Linked DNA regions of Homo sapiens: regions 2, 3, 4 and 5 are each linked to region 1. Evidence: promoter capture Hi-C in 16 types of primary human blood cells and fetal thymus (Javierre and others, 2016). All regions are on one chromosome and are shown on one strand. The core of a region is centred on a gene start or on the middle of the fragment in contact, and the rest is flanking DNA. Distances in the headings are between cores, read along the strand shown.

The links. Contacts are between HindIII fragments. The CHiCAGO score rates a contact against its expected background, and 5 or more counts as called.
Region 2: a contact is called between a fragment that was not itself captured here and the fragment with the promoter of EPN3 in region 1, in 1 of 17 cell types (megakaryocytes). The highest score is 5.1, in megakaryocytes.
Region 3: a contact is called between a fragment that was not itself captured here and the fragment with the promoter of EPN3 in region 1, in 1 of 17 cell types (endothelial precursors). The highest score is 6.5, in endothelial precursors.
Region 4: a contact is called between a fragment that was not itself captured here and the fragment with the promoter of EPN3 in region 1, in 2 of 17 cell types (M2 macrophages and total B cells). The highest score is 5.6, in M2 macrophages.
Region 5: a fragment that was not itself captured here is called in contact with the fragment with the promoter of EPN3 in region 1 in 1 of 17 cell types (M1 macrophages); the score reaches 5.1 in M1 macrophages.

What each region holds. Positions count from the first base shown.
Region 1 is chr17:50,531,286-50,533,985 of GRCh38, forward strand. EPN3 (epsin 3) reads left to right here and starts at 1,450. Exons shown (of 10, transcript NM_017957.3): 1 at 1,450-1,700. MYCBPAP (MYCBP associated protein) reads left to right here. Exons shown (of 19, transcript NM_032133.6): 19 at 42-216. The coding sequence ends at 143. RefSeq lists an enhancer at 2,316-2,700. The HindIII fragment of the contact is 5,271 bases long and covers 1-1,703 here.
Region 2 is chr17:50,186,832-50,189,331 of GRCh38, forward strand. It overlaps COL1A1 (collagen type I alpha 1 chain), which reads right to left. Exons shown (of 51, transcript NM_000088.4): 40 at 2,337-2,444; 41 at 2,072-2,179; 42 at 1,911-1,964; 43 at 1,699-1,806; 44 at 1,265-1,318; 45 at 1,045-1,152; 46 at 653-706; 47 at 184-291; 48 at 1-91. Among named protein-coding and RNA genes, the nearest start is that of COL1A1, 14 kb to the right of the region's middle. RefSeq lists enhancers at 1,875-2,430, 2,431-2,500. The HindIII fragment of the contact is 5,715 bases long and covers 1-2,500 here.
Region 3 is chr17:50,931,814-50,934,513 of GRCh38, forward strand. No RefSeq gene overlaps it. Among named protein-coding and RNA genes, the nearest start is that of TOB1-AS1, 66 kb to the left of the region's middle. RefSeq lists a silencer at 1-41. The HindIII fragment of the contact is 5,593 bases long and covers 1-2,700 here.
Region 4 is chr17:50,953,082-50,955,781 of GRCh38, forward strand. No RefSeq gene overlaps it. Among named protein-coding and RNA genes, the nearest start is that of TOB1-AS1, 88 kb to the left of the region's middle. RefSeq lists enhancers at 801-2,000, 812-1,492, 1,493-2,173. The HindIII fragment of the contact is 9,104 bases long and covers 1-2,700 here.
Region 5 is chr17:50,787,974-50,790,673 of GRCh38, forward strand. No RefSeq gene overlaps it. Among named protein-coding and RNA genes, the nearest start is that of MIR8059, 21 kb to the left of the region's middle. The HindIII fragment of the contact is 2,464 bases long and covers 41-2,504 here.

The DNA.
Region 1 (2,700 bases), core at 200-2,699:
ACAGAGTAAACTCTGCCTGTGATGTTGTCCCGTTCTTCCAGGTCCGTGGGCTGCTGGACACCCTGGTGACTGACCTGATGGTCCTGGCTGATGAGCTCAGCCCCATAAAGAATGTCGAGGAGGCTTTGCGCCTCTGCAGGTGACTCTCGGGCCCAAGCAACCTTCTGGAAAACGGGTTAATAAATAAATCAATAAAGAACCTTCAAGTTTCTACTACTTCCGTGTGCCTCTGTGTCTTGCATGATGGATCTTGGCTAGGTCAGCTCCTGATCCAGGTCCTCCCATGTTCCACCTGCCCTCAGATCCCCTCCTGCCAGCTGCCAGAGCCCTCCTGCAGGAGGACAGACAGACATAGCTGGGGAAGTGATGTGTGGGATGCCAAGCAGAGGAGCAGATTGGTAGCAAGACAAGGAGTCAGGTGACAGGACAGTGTGTCACCTCTGGTAGTCCCTGCCTCTGGCTTCCTTGGCCCACACTTTCAGGGTCGTGCTTCCTGGAGCCAGGTCTTCCCGAAGTGTCATCACCAAGTATGACAAAGTGTGAGATGAGGAGTAGAACTAGACCCATGGGACCTGGCTCCCTGCCATCTCCCCTCTTCAGCTGGGTCCCAGGGCCCCAATTCAGTCCCTGAAGATCATGCTCACCACACCTCTTCAGCTCTAGAGGCCACATCACCTTGTTATTTCGGGGTCTAGTCTGCCTTATCCCCCTCCTCATCTCAAACTATCTGGCCTTGAGCCATCTTTCTGCCTTAAAAACAGCTGCTGATCTTCATGCTACCTCCCTTGCTCAGGGGAACATGAAACAGGCTAGAAATGGCTCTCAGAAAAAAAGGTATTGTCAGCTCAAACTCAGGCCCCTCATTGTCTTCTGTCAGTCATAACCATTTGGGGCTGGGCTCCCTGTGTGAAGAGCACTCCAGGCTCCCAGAGTTTGAAGAACAACTTTGGTTTTTGGGTGGGTGGGCATCCTTAAGTGGGCCTCAGGCATCCTCCAGCTGAGATGCAGGAGGGGGAGGATGGACAGAAGGATCTGACTCCGTGTGGGAAAGGCAGGGAGGGGGCTGTGCTGGAGTCCTGATGCTCTCCTCCCCAAGAAGACGAGAAGACGGGGGCTCCACCAAAGAGCCAGCCCCAGGGAATGTCCCTGCCCTCTCCTTTAATGTCCTCCCGGCCCAGAGGAGGAAGGGGAGGGGTGTGGTGGGGGTGTTGGAGCCCCCCTCCTTTCCTGTTGAAGAGGCAGGGGAAGGGTTAACTCAAAGCAGAGGGGATCAGGTCGCCAGCACTGGCTCCAGATGTGCACTTCCTGGGGGCGGCCAACAGGCAGGCCCCCCACCTCTCAATGCACCACTTGCCTGGCCAGCAGGAAGGGGTTAACCTGCCCTGCACTTCCTCCTGTGTCCTGTTACTGCTGAGGCAGACCTGCCGGGCCAGCTGAGCAACTTTCCTCGGAGTGCTGCCTGGCGCTGGCTAGGAGGCAAACGCACGCGGGAAGAGCTGCTACCCATTCCAGGGACCCTGCCGCTGCCCCTCTGAGGGGTCTGCACCTCCTGGGAGCAGGTGGGTCTCTGGGACGAGGGTCCATGGTGGATGGCTCTGGAGACGCTCCCGAGGCTGTGCCGTCCCGCTGCTGCACAGGTCGGAGGGTCACCGCAGAGGCTACTCGGGCTGGGGCTGGGGCCGAGGGAGCCCGCACTGGAGGTAAGCTTCCTCCCTGGCCCCCTCCCTGGCAGTGGCGGCATGGAAGGCGGGGGTTGGTGGGGAGCAAACAGTGGTTCTGGGGCTTAGTCTCTTTTCCAGGTGCGAGGGAGAAGGCTGAGCTGTAGAGGACCTAAAGGCTTCTTTCCTGCCACCCCTCCCTCCCTGCCGCCCCCAAAAAGGGACTCAGGGCCCCCTCCCCAACCATCCTGGGACTTAGCATCTTTGGTGGCATCTTAGCATCTTTGGTGGCATTCCCCACAGACTCCTTCTGCACATCTCTGCTGTTTCCTCTTCTTCAGCCCCTCATGCACACCTCTAGCCTCAGGGCAGTCCCCCCTCCCCCATCTTCTGTGCTCCCGGGATGCAGCTATTACAGTGGCCAGAAGCTTAGAGTTCAAGCTCACCCCCTGTCCCTTACAGCATCAAGAAGGGCACTGTCATTCCCCACTGCTCAGGCTGGATCTGACTTGGAGGCAGGGGCTGGAGCCCACCTTAGCAGAGGACGGGAAGAGGGTGTGGGCTGGGCTGGTGGGTGCACAGACTTTACGCAAACTCATGCACGTGTGACTGGACAGATCTGGGTTCTCTCCATCTCTCCGAAACCCTTGCTGGGGATGAGCGATCTGCATTTTTCGGTCCTGACTTTTGGGAAACTCTCCAGATCCCCCCATCCTGCAGGCCCTGAGAAGAGCAGCCCCTCCCTACTGCGCAGTTCTCCTTGGGACCCTGTATGCAGGAGAGAGCTGATACTCCGTGCCCCGTGGCCCATCCCACCGCCTGCTGGCCCTGCTCCCATCCCCTCAGCTTCCTCCCTCCTCTGCCCTCTCGTCATCTCTGAATTCTCAGGCCCTGCCCTCTCTGTGCCCTTCCCTCCACCTGACAGGGTCTGGCTCAAGGTCACTGCAGTAATTCCATACCCAGCTGCCCAGGGCTGCTGCTGCTACCGCCACCGCCTTATCGGCCGCTGGGTTTCTGTTACACTCCCTTTTATTTCTGGGCA
Region 2 (2,500 bases), core at 1-2,500, 340 kb before region 1:
TCTCTTGAGGTGGCTGGGGCAGGAAGCTGAAGTCGAAACCAGCGCTGGGAGGACCAGGGGGACCAGGAGGTCCAGGAGGGCCGGGGGGACCCTGCACAGAGAGGGAAGAGAGTGGGGATTACCGGCATCCAAGTGCTTTGGGGGCTGGAGGGCCATGAGCAGAGGGGATGAGGGGCTACATACAACAGGACCAGCATCACCAGTGCGACCGCGAGGACCAGGGGGCCCAATGGGGCCAGGGAGACCGTTGAGTCCATCTTTGCCAGGAGCACCAGCAGAGCCAGGGGGACCCTGGAGTGGGGGAAATGGTTTGAGAAAGGCTGCCAGAAGCCCGAACAACCCCAGCTCTGGAGGAGAGGCCCACCACCCTCCCTGCTGGCTCTGGCCCCACGGCTCATAGAGCCAGCCTCAGCCTCTTTCCATAGGACATGCCATAGCTCCTCCCAGCCGCTGAGCCAGGGGAGGACGGATTGGGGAGCAGAGAGGCCAAAGCTAGATCAGATTGTTTGTTCAGGATTCTTCCTCTCTTTGCCCACTCCCTGTCCCTGAACCCTTCTCCAGAGAGGCAAAGGGTGCCTGGGTCCCTGGCAAGGGTCCCCGAGGTGAGCCTGGGCTTGGGGCTCAGGAAGAGGAGAGAGAAGGCATGACTTACTCGGGGACCAGCAGGACCAGAGGCTCCAGAGGGACCTTGTTCACCAGGAGAGCCCTGAAGGACAGATAAAAAAGGCAGTTCAGGCCCAGTGAGCGTCAAATGTAGCCTGAGGGCCTGGCTGGAGAGACAAGGGCAGTGTGGGCAACCCATGCCCCTTCATTATTCTGGAAATCTAGCCCGAGGGTGTCCATAGGCAGAGACCTCTCCCATAATCCCTCTCTGTGTACCCCTCACCCTCTCAGAAGCTACTTGGACATGCCCACAAATCTTCAGACCCCAGTCCCCACTAGGGAGGGGAAAGAATGACTATCCAGAGGGGGAAACTGAGGCGAAGCTCCCCCTCCTATCCCACAGCACAGCATGGGGACTGGGGAGGGGCTGAGCATACTTACAGGAGGGCCAGGGGGACCCTGGAGGCCAGAGAAGCCACGGTGACCCTTTATGCCTCTGTCGCCCTGTTCGCCTGTCTCACCCTTGTCACCACGGGGGCCTTGGGGTCCCTAGAAGAGAGAAAGGGACAAACTGTCAGGCGGAAGTTCCATTGGCATCGAGTGGGGCACTGTCTGCATCTGTAGAGTTCTAAAGGCATGGGGGACACAGCAGGGTACTTACGGCGGGGCCACGGGCGCCAACAGGGCCGACAGGACCGGCGGGACCAGCAGGACCCTGGGGAGAGCAAGGAAAGCATGAGCTCTTGGCCAGGGAAGGCTGAGGCTGGGGCTGCAGGATGAGGCCTCCCCTCTGCTGGATCTCTCTCTCCTCAGCTGCTTCCCACTGTGGCCATCTCTCCCAACTCCCAGGGAAACCTCCCCACTGCAATCTTCACGGGAGCTGGGGCCAACTCATGGGAGAGGCGGTCCTGTCTGGGAGAGGGGACTTGGGGCTGAGCTTTAACTCAGTTTTTTGGATTAAGGCCCTGACATCTTGCAGGATCTCCTTTCCTCCCCCTGCCTGGGTGAAGTCCGACACCCATCCCCAGGCCTCTAAGGAGGCCTGAAGAGTCCCTGGCCTGACCAGGTACAGGGAACTGGAGCCCAGCTACTTACAGTCTCACCACGATCACCACTCTTGCCAGCAGGGCCAACGGGGCCAGGGGCACCAGGAGCACCAGGAGCACCAGGGGGTCCAGCGGGGCCGGTCTCACCACGGTCACCCTGGCGGGGAGAGCAGGGGAATATGGGTCAGCCCCGGGTGAAGGGCCAGGATGGGGCAGGGAAGCAGCAGACAAGGCTGTGGTCATGGAGTGTTGCCATCTTACCTTGGCGCCAGGAGAACCGTCTCGTCCAGGGGAACCTTCGGCACCAGGAGCCCCCTGCAGAGAGAGAGAGAGAGAAGTGAGAGTCAGCCGGGGAAGAGGGCTTAGGCAAGGCCACAATGGCCATGCTGAGGGTACTGGCATGGGGGCTGGGGACTGCTCACCTCACGTCCAGATTCACCAGGGGGTCCAGCCAATCCAGGGGGGCCCATGGGACCAGGGGGACCACGTTCACCACTTGCTCCAGAGGGACCTTGTTTGCCAGGTTCACCCTAAGGGAGAAGAAAGAGTCAGGCCAGAGATAGGGTCTGGGAGGACCCTTGAGTCCGCTGGAGTCATCTCTACCAAATCTGTTCTCCTTGGCTCCGCCCCACTCCAAGTCCTGTGATGGTTTTTCTCAGGGCCCCCCAAGGTGAGGGGGGCACTTACAGAGGGGCCAGGAAGACCAGGGAAGCCTCTCTCTCCTCTCTGACCAGGCAGGCCGACCACACCACGCTGTCCAGCAATACCTTGAGGCCCGGGAGTACCAGGAGCACCCTTTGGGAGGCAAACAGGGGTGAGGTGCCAGAGAGCAGCACAGGGACCCCTCCCCA
Region 3 (2,700 bases), core at 125-2,624, 400 kb after region 1:
TTGGAACCTCAGCTTCCTCCTTGTTTTTTTTCTGATTCTGACTCTGATTCCTGTGTGCTGAATCCAGGCTGTAGTGAGCTGTGATCACACCACTACATTCCAGCCTGGGTGGCAAAAGGAAGATGAGAGAGAGACAGAGAGAGAGAGAGAGAGAGAGAGAGAGAGAGAGAGAAGAGAGAGAAATAAGGGAGACATCAACACCCTGGAATATTGTGTAGATGAGTTTTAAAAAAAAAACAAGGTAGATCAAGATGTATTAACATGTATCAGATTGTTAAATTTCTTTAAGAAATAAAGTCATTGAAAAATAGAAAAATACAGAATATGGTTCAACTTGAGTTTTTAAAAATCCATGGGCTGGTGAGAAGCAAAACAGACTTCAGTGTTTTTACCCCACTTCTGTATTGTCTGAATCATCTGAAGAGACGCTGTTCATGTATTTCTTGCATAATTTTAAGTATCTGATTTTAATGGTATGAGGGACGGGATAGCAGGGGCCTTCCTGACCCTGTAATTCTCTGGAAGCAGTGGTCAGATCAGGAGTGGGACTGGCTGCAAGGCTTCTGCCCCCGATCCCCGACCCCAGGCTGGGGCTTCAGGATGCCCGACCACAGTGTTCTGAGGGCCTCTGACCATCAGGAGGCCACTGGAAGTCTTAGGGCTGAGGGAGGCATGGGTACTGGGCCTGGGAGGGCAGACGCTGAGGGCAGAGCAAGGGCCCTGGAGTCAGAACCCAGGCTTCTAGTCCCTGGAGCATTGGCTCAAATGGCAGAGTCTCCCTTGTTCCTGCGGCCACTCTGGGTCTTGAGACTGGTGGCATCCTCTGCCCTGACAGCCAGGCCAGGACCAGTGCGAGGAGGAGCCAATGGACCCTGGCTGGCTCCGAGGCTGCGGGGCTGGGTGTGAGGCCTCACCTTAGCCAGTTCTGGAGATGTGCCCCTTGACGTGGCTTCTCTGGGCGAGGCCAGGCTCCCTGTGGGCCCCAGATGCAGAGAGCCAGGATTGATTCTCAAGCCACGAGGTACCCCCCATCCCTGAGATAGGCCCAGCCTATGTGCGTGGCCCTCATCAGCCAGACACTTGGAAATATCCGCACAGTTGCTGGAGAAGCAGAGAAGAGGCCGCTTGAACACAGGGAGCCATCTCCCACAGCACACCACAGACTTCCCCGGGTGCGCGCCGAGGAGCACGGATTCTGACAAGGCGTTATACCTTCAAATCAGGTTCTAATAGCCAAGAATTGCAGGAACCCCTGTGATGAACTAACTTAAGCAGGTTTCTTTACTTTAGGACTTCTCAGGACCTTTCCTATGCTGGGGTACATGATGAGTCTCCATGAAGGTGTAATGAGTGCAACTTTTACTAGAAACCCACGGACTCAGGAGCCCTTTCCTTCCAGAGCATCTCACAGGGCTAGAGGGCTCCAAAAACACTGAGCCAATGAAGGTGGGAAACAAGCACTGAGGGTGCAGGACCATCGCAGACAGAGTTTGGGAAAACTTAAGAGGAGGATGAGGCCTGGTGCAGTGGCTCACACCTGTAATCCCAGCACTTTGGGAAGCCGAGGCGGGTGGATCACGAGGTCAGAAGTTCGAGACCAGCATGGCCAACATGGTGAAATCCCATCTCTACTAAAAATACAAAAATTAGCTGGACGTGGTGGTGGGTGCCTGTAATCCCAGCTACTCAGGAGGCTGAGGCAGGAGAATCGCTTGAATCCGGGAGGTGGAGGTTGCAGTGAGCCAAGATTGCACAACTGCACTCCAGCCTGGGTGACACAGCAAGACTCTATCTTGGAAAAAAAAAAAAGAGGAGGATGAGTAAGCACTGTCCTGCATCACTCAACAAGGGGGATATGTCCTGAGAAATGTGTCCTCAGGCAATTTCGTCATTGTATGAACATCATAGAGTGCACTTACACAAACCCAGATGGTAGTATGGACTACCACACACCCAGGCTACTGCTCCCAGGCTACACACTCAGAGAGCTTGTTACTGTACTGAATACTGTAGGCAATTGTGGCACAATAGTAAGTATTTGTGTATCTAAACATATCTATACATAGAAAAGGTAGAGTTAAAATACAGTATTATAATCTTGTGGGGCTGGGCACAGTGGCTCATGCCTATACTCCCAGCACTTTGGGAGGCTGAGGCAGGTGGATCACTTGAGGTCAGGAGTTCAAGACCAGCCTGAATAACATGGTGAAACCCTGTCTCTACTAAAAATACAAAAAATTAGCTGGGTATGGTTGCGGGTGCCTGTAATCCCAGCTACTCAGGAGGCTGAGGCAGGAGAATAGCTTGAACCCAGGAGGCAGAGGTTGCAGTGAGCCGAGGTTGTGCCAGGGCACTCCAGCCTGGGCGACACAAGCAAGACTCTGTTTCAAAAATAATAATAATAATAATAATCGTATGGGCCCACCACTTTAGCTGCAGTCTGTAGTTGACTGAAACGTTATGAGGTGCATGACTGTATAAGAAGGTGTGAGAAAAGTGGAGGCCACCTCACCTGTGAGAGATTTGTTTAAAGACCAGTCCTGCTAATAGAATGCAGGTGGGTAGGGGGTGGGGAAAGCCCATCAACAGAGCAGGTGTGGGACTAACATTCATCTCTTTTCTCGGAGTTTGACACCTGGGCTCATGCACATATGTGCACCTACCTAGGCACATACCCAAAGGTACACATACAAAAAGCTC
Region 4 (2,700 bases), core at 32-2,531, 420 kb after region 1:
AGTGAGGTTGAGAACCGCTGGTTGAGGTGTCCTGTCAAATGGGGAAATCTGTGCCCCACAGCCGCCTTGGGGATTAAGGCAGGCAATGGATGAGGAACCCAGGACTGGGCCCAGCACACACTCCACAGTTGCATGGGATTCTCCTCTCCTAAGGACTTTTTGGCCTGGGACATGGTAGCTAGCGGGCAGAGGTGGAGTAGGCACATATTTTGGCTTTCACGAGAGAACTTTCTGAAATGATCTTGATGCTCCTGTCCCACCCAGCTCATGGCACAGTTTCTCTAGAACAATCCCATGCTCATTTATCAACAAGGAAAACCCAGGCATGGTGGCTCACACCTGTAATCCCAGCACTTTGGGAATCTGAGATAGGAGGATCACTTGAGCTCAGGAGTTCGAGACCAGCCTGGGCAACATGGCGAAACACTGATTCTGCAAAAAATAAAAAAAAAATTAGCTGGGTGTGGTGGTGTGTGCCTGTAGTCCCAGCTGCCCGGAGGGCTGATGTAGGTGGATAGCTCCAGCCTGGGAGGTTGAGGCTGCAGTGAACTATGATTGTGTCACTGCACTCCAGCCTGGGCGACAGAGGGGAGACCCTGTCCCAAGAAACAAAAAAAAAAAAAGAAAGAAAGAAAGAAAGAAAGAAAAAGTGGGCTCTGGAAGGAGCCAGCCACCGTTGCCCTCTGGGCACTCACCATCTCACCCCTCAGGCTCCAACAGGGTTCCACGTGACCAATCCCCGAGGGGAGAGGAGACTGCGGAGAGGATGGGAGGCAAAGCACCTCCTTCAAGCTCCAGGGAGGCAGGAGGATTTGTTTAGGAGTGGCCCTGTGCAGAGGTAGGGGCATGGCTGAGAACACCTTGGGAGGTGGTGTGAAGCTGAGTCCAGGAGCCGCCAGCCCTCCCTGCCACTCAGCTCAGGGGTCACTTGGGTAGCTTCAGCCTCAACAGCCGTGGAGTCAAGTGTCTCCTCTACAAAAATAATTCCCAAATAAGTCACTGCCTTCACCCCTGGGACTGGCTGGTGCACCCAAATTGGAGTCGCCACCCAGCCCCCTTGAGCATTGCCTTGCTGGCTGATCCAACAGAGGCAGAATTAGCTGATGAGGCTACCACAGCGGGAGGGAACTGACCTGAGGCCGCCTGGAGAGATGGGACCCCGAGGGCCCTTTCTGGCACTACTCACTTGTTGGGTCTGGGGAATTAAAACACACTCCCCCTCTCTGGGTCTCAGTTTAACAGGGAGGAGACCACCACCTTCCAAACCTCAGTGACGGCATCAGGCTGGGGGTGGTGCTGGGCCTCCTGCGTCTGTGTCTGGAGACGCAGCTGACTCCCTGACAAGCCCAGACATGCAGCTGTTCCTGCAGAGGAAGCAGCAGGAACTGGGGAAGGGCAGAGCGCTGAGGGAGGGGCAAGAGGGATGCAAGGACACCACAGTGACCGCGTGCAGCGAAGCGAGTATGAGCAGAGTCCCAATCTCCAGGTCCCCTCTCCGCGGAAGCACTTTTGTCTTTATTGGAAATTTCCTCCCATGTAACATCTGACCTCTACCTTCTCTTCTACAGATGAGCTCTGCTGTGAGTCCCAGCGGGCTGAGACACTGTGACTGCCCACCTGTCCCCAGGTGCCCCTTCTATACAGCCCCATCCCTTCCCAGGGATGCTCAGTGGCTGCGGCCACCCTTGCTTTCTGCCACTCAGCCCTTGCAGGGGCTTCACACCCCAAGAGGGGCAGTCTGGGCTGGGGCTCCTGGACTCCCTAAGGCATTATCCCATCCCCGCAAGTTGCCCGGCCGGGCCCTGAAGGAAAGGGGCCCCGGACCCAGACCCGAAGGCTGCTCACCAGAGGCTCTGCCCAGGGACTCTCACCTCTCCAGCCACTCCAACTCCCCTCCGGCTTTCCTGTCATTTCCTGATGCCACAAATCTTCTGACATCCTCCCTCTTCCCCAGTGAATTTCTTCCCCAGGCCCTTCCCTTCCTCAACCTGCTTCATACTGGACATTCCCAGCTGGTAGGATCTGCCTGTGGCTCTGCACAGGAGGCTGGGCAAGGGTGGAGAAGACTGGGGGAGCTGTCTCCCATGACCCCAGCAGAGGCGAGAGACAGAAGCTGCATCTGGGACCTGTCGGCTGCAGTTTTGGGCATTCATACCCACCTAAGCATTCTGGAACAGCCCTGAACCTGGGCATCAAACTCCCCAGGCTTGAGAATGGTGAACACTACTATTAGGCGCCCCTTCCTCCAGGCCTATGCCGACTCCCCTGTGCCCATGGAAGCTGTGTAGTCCATGCTGGCTCTGGCTCATGTGGGTGTCCGGACAGTGAGGCCGAGGCGGCAAGGGCCCTTTACTCTGTGCACTCCCAGCTCCCCATCCCAGCCAGGGCAGCCTTGACCCTCCTGCCCCCTTGCTGTGCCATGTGTCAGTTGGCTGGGATCATGCTCTTCCCCCGTCTCCATCAAGAGGATCCAACAGCATCTTGCAGCTAACACTGGGGCATGGGAGTGAGGGAAACAAACATGGTACCCACTCTTCTGTCCTAATGTTTAGAATCATGGGGCAGAAAAGCATCCTAGAACTCATCTAGCCCAACTGTCATTTTACAGAAAACAGGACAGAGAGAAAATGACCAGCCTAAAGCTCTTGGCTACTCAGGGCAGCTGGGACAGGGGTCTGGTTTCCCGGCATGGAGCCACAG
Region 5 (2,700 bases), core at 23-2,522, 260 kb after region 1:
CTCAGCAACAAGGAAGTGGGTCAGAAAGCAGCCAAATTAAAGCTTAATTATAACTCTATTTCTGTCCAGAACCTGACATGTGATTCTTGTTAACCCTGTGGGGATAGTTTCAGTGGCTGGAACAGAGTGAGCAAAGAAGAGAGAGGACTGTTAGTGGGTCGCAGGCAGGGAGGTGAGGCAATCTGAATGATATTTCCAATAGGCCACTCCATGTGCAGACAGAACCTGGGTTGGAGAAGAGGAAGAAGGGAAGTGGGGAGTCCCCTTAGGAGGGTATTGCCATCGTCAAGGTGAGAGTTCGTGGTCGCCATGGTGGTCAGATTCAGGATGTACATTGAAGGGGGCCCAAATAGGATTCGCCAGTGCATTGGAGGAAAGGGAGGTAGGAGTCAAGAATGACTGACACTATTTTTTTTTTTGAAATGGAGTCTCACTCTGTCACGCAGGCTGGAGTGCAGTGGTGCAATCTTGGCTCACTACGTCCTCCTCCTCCTCCTGGGTTCAAGTGGTTCTCCTGCTTCAGCCTCACAAGTAACTGGGATTACAGGTGCGCGCCACCACGCCTGGCTAATTTTTGTGTGTTTTAGTAGAGAGGGGGTTTCACCATGTTGGCCAGGCTGGTCTTAAACTCCTGACCTCAGGTGATCCGCCCGCCTTGGCCTCCCAAGGTGCTGAGATTATAGGCATGAGCCACCGCGCCCGGCCAAGGATGACTGACATTTTGAATTTGAACAAGTGGGTAAATGGAGTTACTGTCTACTGAGATGGGGAGTGCTGGGGTAGGGCCTCTGCTTTAGACATAAAAGGTATCTGAGAGCACAGGGTCTTTGGAACCTGGTGTCTAAAGTAGACAAAGAGACTGGCATCTCAGGTAGGAGTGCAGGCTTGGGGAGCCCCACCTTCCACAGTGTGGGGGAAGCAGGAGGCCGTCAGAGTCTCACTAGCCATCCTGTTCATTCATGAATTCATTTATTCATTCATTCAGTAAAAATTTATGGAGCACCAAGGATAAGCCAGACACTTTTCTGGATGCTGGAAATAGAGGAGAACAAGAGGCGGTGTTGCCAGTCTAATTTGGTTCCTTACCTCCAGGTAGAAGAGACAGGTAATGAATAAGCAAACGTGTAAAAGAGAAGATGATCTTACAGAAGGACGGTGTCACAAGGAGCAGTAGAGGGTGGTAGGGAGTGCCAGGGAAACAGAATTGGGTAGGGGGTCACCCAGGCAGCCCCAAGGACCAGTCCCAGACTCCCAGGAGGACCTACCTCAGTTTGTCTTCTTTTTGTCCCACAGAATGGCTGCTATACCATTAGGAAGGGGAGGGAAGAGGAGTGGCCCTGCAGTGACCCTCAGGGGTCTTTGGAGGGGGGGGCTTTGTCCTAGAGGAAGAATCTCTTCGCAGGGTGCTGTGGCTCATGCCTATAATCCCAGCACTTTGAGAGGCCAAGGCAGGTGGAGCACCTGAGGTCAGAAACTCCAGACCAGCCTGGCCAACGTGGTGAAACCCCATCTCTACCAAAAATACAAAAATTAGCCAGGCGTGTTGGTGCGTGCCTGTAATCCCAGCTACTTGGGAGGCCGAGGCAGGAGAATCACTTGAACCCAGGAGGCAGAGGTTGCAGTGAGCTGAGATCATGCCATTGCACTCCACCCTGGACAACAGAAAAAGACCCTATTAAAAAAAAAAAAATTCGCCAGGCGTGGTGGCGCATATGCCTGCAGTCCCAACTACTCGGGAGGGTGAGGCAGGAGATCACTTGAGCCTGGGAGTTTGAGGCTGCAGTGAACTATGATTGTACCACTGCACTTTAGCCTGCGAGACAGAGTGGAGCCCTGTCTCAAAAAAAGGAAACAGCGGGTGTGGTGGCTCACACCTATAATCCCAGCACTTTGGGAGGCCAAGGCAGGCGGATCACCTGAGGTCAGGAGTTCAAGACCAGCCTGGCCAGCACTGTGAAACCCCATCTCTACTGAAAATACAAAAATGAGCCGGGAGTAGTGGTGAACGCCTGTAGTCCCAGCTACTCAGGAGGCTGAGGCAGGAGAATCGCTCGAACCCAGGAGGCAGAGGTTGCAGTGAGCTGAGACTATGCAACTGTACTCCAGCCTGGGTGACAGAGTAAGACTCTGTCTCAAAAAAAAAAAAAAAGGAAACAGAGAACCCATGAGAGGTATATGCTGTGTTCCCACAGAGCAAAACTGCTCAGCCCACTGCAAAATTCTTCTCTGAGTGTGTGGAAATGGGGTTGCTCACTTTCTACCATTTGAGAGTTTCTGCTATGCAAAGAATTTTCTTTGTGCTTCCTGGTGCTTTATCCTGCAAAGAATGGGAGAGTGAGGCCTGTGAAGGCTCATAAGCCAAAGTTCCCATCTGAGCTCTGCCACTGCATGATGGGTGACCTCAGGTGATGTGTTCGTGTCCTTTGGGACAGCAAGAGTTAATATGGGGGAGCAATTTAGTTAAAAGAGATTTTGAAGAAGCTGAACTCAGACAATTGTGAGCAAGCTTCAGGGATGGTTCTGGTTATTGAGACAAGGAACAAGACGAATACTAGAACCTGCGCTGAGGCTGTGGCAGGCTACGGAGAAGAGGAGGCAATGATATCTGCTAGGAGAGTGTTGCATTATGGGGCTGAGGGACTGGGAGGGCCATGGGCATTCCTGGGGCTTCCAGTTTGGGCACTGGAGTGAATGATGGAC